Regions from separate parts of the Homo sapiens genome. Here region 1 is linked to region 2. The links are contacts of gene promoters, found by promoter capture Hi-C in blood cells and fetal thymus (Javierre and others, 2016). All regions are on one chromosome and are shown on one strand. The core of a region is centred on a gene start or on the middle of the fragment in contact, and the rest is flanking DNA. Distances in the headings are between cores, read along the strand shown. Region 1 holds the start of PSEN2 (presenilin 2). Region 2 has its middle 64 kb from the start of LINC01641.

Region 1 (3,776 bases), core at 284-2,783, 590 kb after region 2:
CAGCAGCAGCCCCTAGCCCTTGCTCCTCCTCCTCCTTGCTGCTCTTTCAAATAGACAGGAACAAGCCACTCACTCCCCACATGTGAACATGCTGGACTCAAGACTTGGCACATGGGCACTTCAACACCAAAGGGTACAGAGTTTTCCCCAAAAACCTGATACATCCATCCCACTTCAAAGCAACATGCCCCCAAGCCCTCACTCCAGTCTCTGCCCTGGAACCCAAGGCTCAACGTGGGCGTCGTGAGGACGCAGCTCTGAGGTGGGGCCAAGAACCAGGCCCCTTCTGCACCTGCGCCAGTCACCGGCTGCCCACAACCACATTCAGGAGAGAAGAACCTGAGGCTCACACACCTGAAGCAGCTTATCCCGAGACTCCAATTACCGCCAAAGGTCTTGGCTGAAGGCCTTGGAGGCTCAGGTGTCTGCAGAATTGGCTACAGAGGCATCAGAGGCTTCCTTACTGGAAGCTGGGGTCGGTCCTAATCAAGTTACTTCGTAGACAGCCTTGGCAACCCCAGGCTGTCGCTTCTGAGTTAAGTTAGTCTACAATCGTCTCTATGGAATGCTCTCAGGTTCTCCATTTGTAAATAGGGATGCAGTTACTTCACTCAACACCGTTCATACCTTTCAAAGGGAATACTTATTAAGGCAATAAACAGGGGTGAGGTCTGCTCGGAGGGATGGACAGCAGATCTAGAAGCCAGGACACTGGGGTCGAAGCCTGGCTCTGCTATATCGTACCTGGGCGACCTTGGGAAAAGTCACTTTAGCTCTGTGGCCTCAGTTTCTTCATCAGTAAAATTCAGAGGGGGGACTAGCTTCTGTCTCAGGTTCCTTCAGCTCCAAAAGCTTGCTTCTGGCTGTCTCCTCACTGCTGGAAATGCCTGATAAAACAGCCAAACACCGCTGCTAACAGAAACCGGCTCTAGGCTTGAGCCTGCGGCCCTGCCCCTCACGTGCGGGCAGAGCCCCCGCGCGCCTCCTTCCCGGGGAAAGCATGCCCAGGACCCGGTGCTAGAGGCCGAATGGACTCGGCGCAACGGAGGTCTCCGGCGAGAGAGAAGAAGAACAAAACGCCCCCGCCTGCTACACGCCTCAGAGACCCACGTGCACCGCTCCTTTAAATGCACCGGCCCTTTAACCGCTCGCGCCGCGCCCACCCCCAGCCGGGGCTCGGCGGCAGGCGGGCGCAGGGAAGTGGGGACGCAGTGAGGCCGAAGGCCTGAGGGCCGCTCCCCGCGATCCTTCCACGACCCAGTTCCGGGCCGGCCCAGCCGCCGCCTGCCGGGCACTCTCCTCTCTCCGCCCCCGCGCTGGCCGCAGAGGCCAGGAGCGCTGCGCACGCAGGGGCCGCAGACCCACAGCCGGGGAAGGGACCGTGGCCAGAGGCGTGCGGAGGGCAGGGCAGGGCCCTCAGGGCGCAGCCCCACCCCGGGCCCTCAGCGCCGCAGGCGACAGGGCCCTGGCCTGGGCACCCCCCGGCACCGCCCGCTCACCTGCTCTGCCGCCGCGCTCCAGCGGAGTTTACGCAGCTGGCTGAGCGCCCGGCCGGACCCGGCGCCGGCCCAGGCCCCGCCCCACGCCCGCCCAGGCCACGCCCGGTGGGCGACGCCGCGTTCCCTCGTCCACTGGGGCCCCACCTGGAGTCCCGGGCGCGCGGGGAGGGTGGCCTTCACGCCGCGTGGATGACAGGGTCATCCCGACGTCGGAACTAAGCGACGACCTTAGAAGGAGTGGAGGCCGGGCCTGTCATCTTCCTGCGGGCCTGGCAGCAGCGTGGGGCGGTAGGACATAGGCTTCGAGGACACTCTTTCTTGTAGTTTTGGGTCCACATCCCCTCCTCCTCCCGGTTGTTCTCACATTAAAGGAGCACTAATGGCCCAATGTGAGCTAACACCATGAGAATGTTCCTGGTCTGTTCCCTAGGGCGCTTCAGAGCCACCAGGAGCTCTGCATAAAATTGAACAGGAATAAATTGCTGCCTGACCTGAGAATTGGCCTAGGGGGTTGTGGTTCCAGGATTTGGGGTCTGTGGGGTAGGTTGAGATTGTCAATAATTTGGCGTTGTCTGAGTAGTTTTACTTTTTTTTTTTTAACTTAAGGTGAAATTCACATAACATAAAATTTACCATTTTAAAGTGGGCATTTCAGTGGCATTTAGTGAATTCACAATGCTGTGCAACCACCACCTCTGTCTAGTTCCAAAACATTTTCCTCATTCCGAAAGAAAAACCCCATACCCATTGAGAAGTTTCTTCCCAATGCCCTCTTCCCCCCCAGCCCCTGGCAATTACCAGTCTACTTCTGTCTCTATATTTACTTACTTTAGATACTTCATATAAACGGAATCACAGTGTGTGGACTTTTGTGTCTTTCACTTAGCATGTTTTCGAGGTTCATCCTCAGGTAGCATGTAACAGACTTTATTCCTTTTTATGACTGAATAGTGTTTGTGTGTGTATATGTATATGTGTGTGCGTGTGTGTGTGTGTATCATGTATGCCACAGTTTATTCATCTATGGACATTGGGGCTGTTTGCATCTTTTGGCTTTGTGAATAATGCTACCATGAACATGCATGTACATGTATTTGTTTGAGAGCCCATTTTTATTTGGGGAGGGTACATACATAGGGGTTGAATTGTTGGATCGCATGGTAATTCAATTTTTTTTTTTTTTTGAGACAGAGCCTTGCTCTGTTGCCCAGCCTAGAGTGCAGTGGCCGCAATCTTGGCTCACTGCAACCTCTGCCTCCCAGGTTCGAGCAATTATCTTGCCTCGGCCTCCTGAGTAGCTGGAGTTACAGGTGTGTGCCACCACATCTGGCTAATTTTTGTATTTTTAGTAGAGATGGGGTTTCCCCATGTTGGCCAGGCTGGTCTTGATCCTGAACTCAAGTTATCTGCCTGCCTTGGCCTCCCACAGTGCTGGATTATAGGCATGAGCCACCGTGCCCAGCCTTCAGTGTTTAACTATTTGGGGAACCCCAAGTGGTTTCCACGATGGCTGAACCATTTTATATTCCTACCAGCAATGTACAGGATCCCAATTTCTCCACATCCTCACCAACACTTGTTATTTTCCATTTTATTGTTATCCTAGTAGGTGTGCAGCGGTACCTCATTCTGGTTTTGGTTTACATTTTCCTAATAACTAATGCTATTAAGCATTCTCCTTTTCATGTGTTTGTTGGCCATCTGTATATCTTCTTTGGAGACATGCCTATTCAAGTCCTTTGCCCATTTTAAAATTGGGTTGTCTTTTTGTTGTTGGGTTGTAAGAGTTCTTTATATATTCTGGACACTAGACCCTTATCAGATATATGCTTTGCAAATATTTCTCTCCCATTCTGTAATTGTCTTTTTCACTTTCTGATGTCCTTTCATGCACATAAAACTTTAATTTTGATGAACTTCAGCTTAACTGTTTTTTCTTTTGTTGTTTGTGCATTTGGTGTCCTGTGTGAGATATCATTGTCAAATCCAAGGTTGTGAAGATTTACTCCTGTGTTTTCTTCTAAGAGTTTTATAGTTTTAGCTCCTATATTTAGGTTGTTGATCCATTTTAAGATAATTTTTGTATGTAGTGTGAGGTTAGGGTCCAAGTTCATTGTTTTGCATGTGGACTTCTAGTTGTCCCAGCACCATTCGTTGAAGAGATTGTCCTTTTCCTATTGAATTGTCTTGGCTTCTTGTCAAAAATCAATTGGCCATAGATGGATGGGGAAAACCAAATATTTTCAAAGAGCTGTTTAAATGCAGATTAACCCTGGA
Region 2 (4,203 bases), core at 517-3,016:
GCTGGTCTTAAACTCCTGGACTCAAGGGCTCCTCCAGCCTCAGCCTCCCAAAGTGCTGGGACTACAGGTGTGAGCCCCTGCACCCAGCCTCAATACATTCTTGTTGAATAAATAAACAAATAGCATTCAGTTGGAGAGAGATCTGCATGAAGAAAAGGGCTCAACTATTTATGCCATGCACTGGATCAGGGGCTGCATAATGTGGTGCAACAGAGATGCCACTAAGGGTCAGACACTCCACCATCGGGCTCTGTCCTCTGTGATTGACAGAAGCTCCAAAAGCTTGTCATTGTGGGAGCTGCAATATCCTGGGTCCTTGGCTCTTCAGTCTACTTTCCATGTTTGTGCTATCTGCCTCCTAATCTTTCTCAGATAACTCATACATTTACAGTTTCCCCAGCTCTACCCACAGACATTAATTTTCAGAAAAAGGTCTGAGCAAACACCAAGTAAGAGTGACAGCCTCTAGCATTAACTGTCCTTAAGGTGGTTGTTTTTTACCTGGCAAAAATTCTTAGCTAAGCCCAGGACGCTTTAGAGCAGGGGTTCTAAGTTTTTGTAACTCTTTTTTTTTCTTTTTTTTTGAGACGGATTCTCACTCTGTTGTCCAGGCTGGAGTGCAGTGGTGTGATCTCAGCTCACTGCAACCTCCACCTCCCAGGTTCAAGCAATTCTCCAGCCTCAGCCTCCCAAGTAGCTGGGATTACAGGCACCTGCCACCACGCCCAGCTAATTTTTGTAGTTTTAGTAGAGATGGGATTTCACTGTGTTGGCCAGGCTGGTCTAGAACTCCTGACCTCAGGTGATCCACCCACCTCAGCCTCCCAAAGTCCTGGGATTACAGGCACGAGCCACTGTGCCTGGCCAATTTTTTGGAACTTTTGAATATTTTGTGGTAACTGCATTTATTATTTTGTAAATAACTATACAATTTGTAAAGGCCAGTTTTGGTGGAAAAACAATTAAAATAAGGATGGAAATTATTACACATGCTGGAAATGGCTAATCTTTGTCCTCAAACAAATGTTTATTGGCTGTAAACAAACTTATTATATGTTAGTTCTGAAAGAAAAAAACATAATGAAATAACTTGTGCAAAATGCTGGAGATACATCTTCAAAGATTTTTGTCTAACAATTAAGGAAGAAATGAAGATTACATGTAAATTATAAACTGAGAATTAAACAAATGCATTGACACACATGCCAAGTCTTTGGAATTATTGATAAGAATACAGCTTATTACAGATCCTTTCATCAAGAGAAGATACTGGGGTTTGATTTTCCTTTGACAACATTTTCAAAAAAGTTGATGGTACAAAACCATCAAAGTCACCATCACTATCTCCTGCTGAAACCCCAGCCAAATCTTCACCCCACCCCACTTAGTCACTTGCAAAAATCACTCAACATTAAAACCAAGTTCTTACACATCATTCAGGTAAGAGAGATAATTAGAAATTGAGGAAAGAAAGAAATCGCTTTAGAGTAATAAGGAATTGGCCAGGCACCTTGGCTCACGCCTGTAATCCCAGCACTTTGGGAGGCCAAGGCAGGTGGACCACGAGGTCAGGAGTTTGAGACTAGCCTGGCCAACATGGTGAAACCCCATCTCTACTAAAAATACAAAAATTAGCTGGTGACAGTGGCAGGCGCCTGTAATCCCAGCTACTTGGGAGGTTGAGGCAGGAGAATCGCTTGAACAAGAGCGAAACTCCATCTCAAAAAAAAAAAAAAAAAAATAGCCAAGCATGGTGCACACCTGTAATCCCAGCTACTTGGGAGGCTGAGGCAGAATTGCTTGACCCCAGGAGGTGGAGGTTGCAGTGAGCCAGGATCACACTATTGCACTCCAGCCTGGGCAACAGAGCAAGGCTCCATCTCAGAAAAAAAATAAAGAAAGAAAGAATAATAAGGAGTTGGCTCGTGCCTGTGGTCCCAGCTACTCTGGAGGCTGAGACAGGAGGATCACTTGGGCCAGAGAGATCACAGCTACAGTGAGCTATGATCGTGCCTGTGAATAGCCACTGCACTCCAGCCTGGGTGACATAGCAAGACACTGTCTGAAAAAAAAGAATAAGAAGGAGCTTTGTAGGTAAATTAGAACAGACTTGTATTTGAGACCTTGCCTTCACTGCTGCCATGAAGTAGGGCATGGAGGGACCCTCAAGGAGGAAAAGCAGAGATCTCCAACCCCAACCCTATTCTATTTTGAATTGTCTGATGAATTGGGATGATTCCAACCAAGGTCCACTGGCATTTAAGAACACTAAAAATACCAGAGGGAGACTCACCTGAGTGAAAGAGGAGTCCAGTCAGTTGACCTGATTGCAAATGTGGGCAGAGAGGGGACAAGAAAATACAGTAAGTTTCCTGTCTCCTTTATATGGGGCTGGGTGCTGGGAATAATGAAGGTCATAGAGGTGGTGGTGTGCAGGCAGAGGCAGACACATTTTTGATGGAGTAATTGGTGAGGTCCTCCCTGGAGACTGAGATCTAAATGATGAGGCAAAGAATGGGGGCAGGAGAATGCAAGACTGAGGGAATGAGGACCTGAGTCTTTTTTTTTTTTTTTTTTTTTTTTGAGACAGAGTTTCAGAGTTTCACTCTTGTTGCCCAGGCTGGAGCACAGTGGCGCGCTCACTGCAATTTCCACCTCTTGGGTTCAAGCGATTCTCCTGCCTCAGCCTCCTGAGTAGCTGGGATTACAGGTGCCCACTACCACCCCCGACTAATTTTTTGTAATTTTGGTAGAGACAGGGTTCCATCATGTTGGCCAGGCTGGTCTGGAACTCCACCTCAGGTGACCCACCCACCGCAGCCTCCCAAAGTGCAGGAATTACAGGCACGAGCCACCATGCCCGGCCAGAGGCCCTGAGGCTTTAAATGGCTTAGTGTGGTTGAGGAGATGAAAGAAGACCACTTGATAGAACACAGATGAAGAAGGAGGAGAGCACAGATTGGAAAAATGGGCAGGGGCCACCTCACACCAGCCTCTAAGGTGTGGTTAGGAGTTCACTCTTTGCTTTAAGAACAATGAAAGCCCTGAAAGGTTTTAAGCAAGGGTATGACTTGGTCGGATCACTCTGGATGTTCTCAAGAGAAGGGACTAGAGAGAAGATGGGAGCTTTGAGGTCCATTAGAGGCGAGGCTGCTGCAATGGAAGAGCTGGATAAAGCGTTCTTGGAAATTCTGAAGGAGGATGGCCCGAAGAGGAAAACACTGGATTTCTGCTAATAAAATCAAGCTTGATGGGATTAGGTGGGGCGGCTCAATGCCAAGAATTTAAGACCAGCCTGGGCAACATAGCGAAACCCCAGTATTTACAAAAAATAAAAATTATCTGGGTGCGTTGGTGCGTGCCTGTAGTCCCAGCTACTTTGGATGCTGAAGTGGGAGAATCACTTGATCCTAGGAGTTGGAGGCTGCAGTGGAATGATTGCACCACTGCCTAAAATGAAAGAAATAAAAAGTTGGGGCTCAGAAAATTCATCAAAAAATAAAAGGGGCTGGGTGCGGCAGCTCACACCTGTAATCCCAGCACTTTGGGAGGCTGAAGCAGGTGGATCACTTGAAGTCAGGAGTTCGAGACCAGCCTGGCCAACATGGTGAAACCCATCTCAACCAAAAAATACAAAAATTAGCCAGGCGTGGTGGTGCGGGCCTGTAGTCCCAGCTACTCAGGAGGCTGAGGCATGAGAATTGCTTGAGCCCCAGAGGCAGAGGCTACAGTGAGCCGAGATTTCACCACTGCACTCCAGCCTGGGCAACAGGGTGAGACCCTGTCTGAAAAACAAACAAATAAATAAAAGGGATACATGCATGTTGGTGAGGCAAGTCATATTTGTTATTCCTGTAGACAGGTGCTTTCTAGCCATAGTTGAACTAGGGTAGTTGCATCACTAGACTTTCAGGGCCATTTTTTTCTCTATAAAGAACTTCTTTAGCGTGAAGGAAATTATTTCCTCCAGGTGACAAATGGCATTTGAGTATTTCAGAGTCACAATTCAGAATATTTATGTAAGCCAGATGGTAGCAAGAAGAGGATAAACCAGGACTGGCAGAGGTGGAACTTATTCCAAATACAAGAGGGACACTGCTACCCTGTTCTTCCCAGGATGTCACCCCCATCTGCCACCCCCCTGCCCTTCCTTCCACAGCTCTTCCCTCTCTTTCCCTCCTCACCCTTTCATCATCTCACCCT

Evidence for each region. Contacts are between HindIII fragments. The CHiCAGO score rates a contact against its expected background, and 5 or more counts as called.
Region 1: a contact is called between the fragment with the promoter of PSEN2 here and a fragment that was not itself captured in region 2, in 1 of 17 cell types (endothelial precursors). The highest score is 5.2, in endothelial precursors.

What each region holds. Positions count from the first base shown.
Region 1 is chr1:226,868,373-226,872,148 of GRCh38, reverse strand. It overlaps PSEN2 (presenilin 2), which reads right to left and starts at 1,533. Exons shown (of 13, transcript NM_000447.3): 1 at 1,500-1,533; 2 at 745-887. It overlaps LOC105373119 (a long non-coding RNA gene), which reads left to right and starts at 1,599. Exons shown (of 3, transcript XR_949226.4): 1 at 1,599-1,787. RefSeq lists silencers at 1,071-1,120, 1,131-1,730. The HindIII fragment of the contact is 3,629 bases long and covers 855-3,776 here.
Region 2 is chr1:227,455,190-227,459,392 of GRCh38, reverse strand. No RefSeq gene overlaps it. Among named protein-coding and RNA genes, the nearest start is that of LINC01641, 64 kb to the right of the region's middle. The HindIII fragment of the contact is 2,964 bases long and covers 285-3,248 here.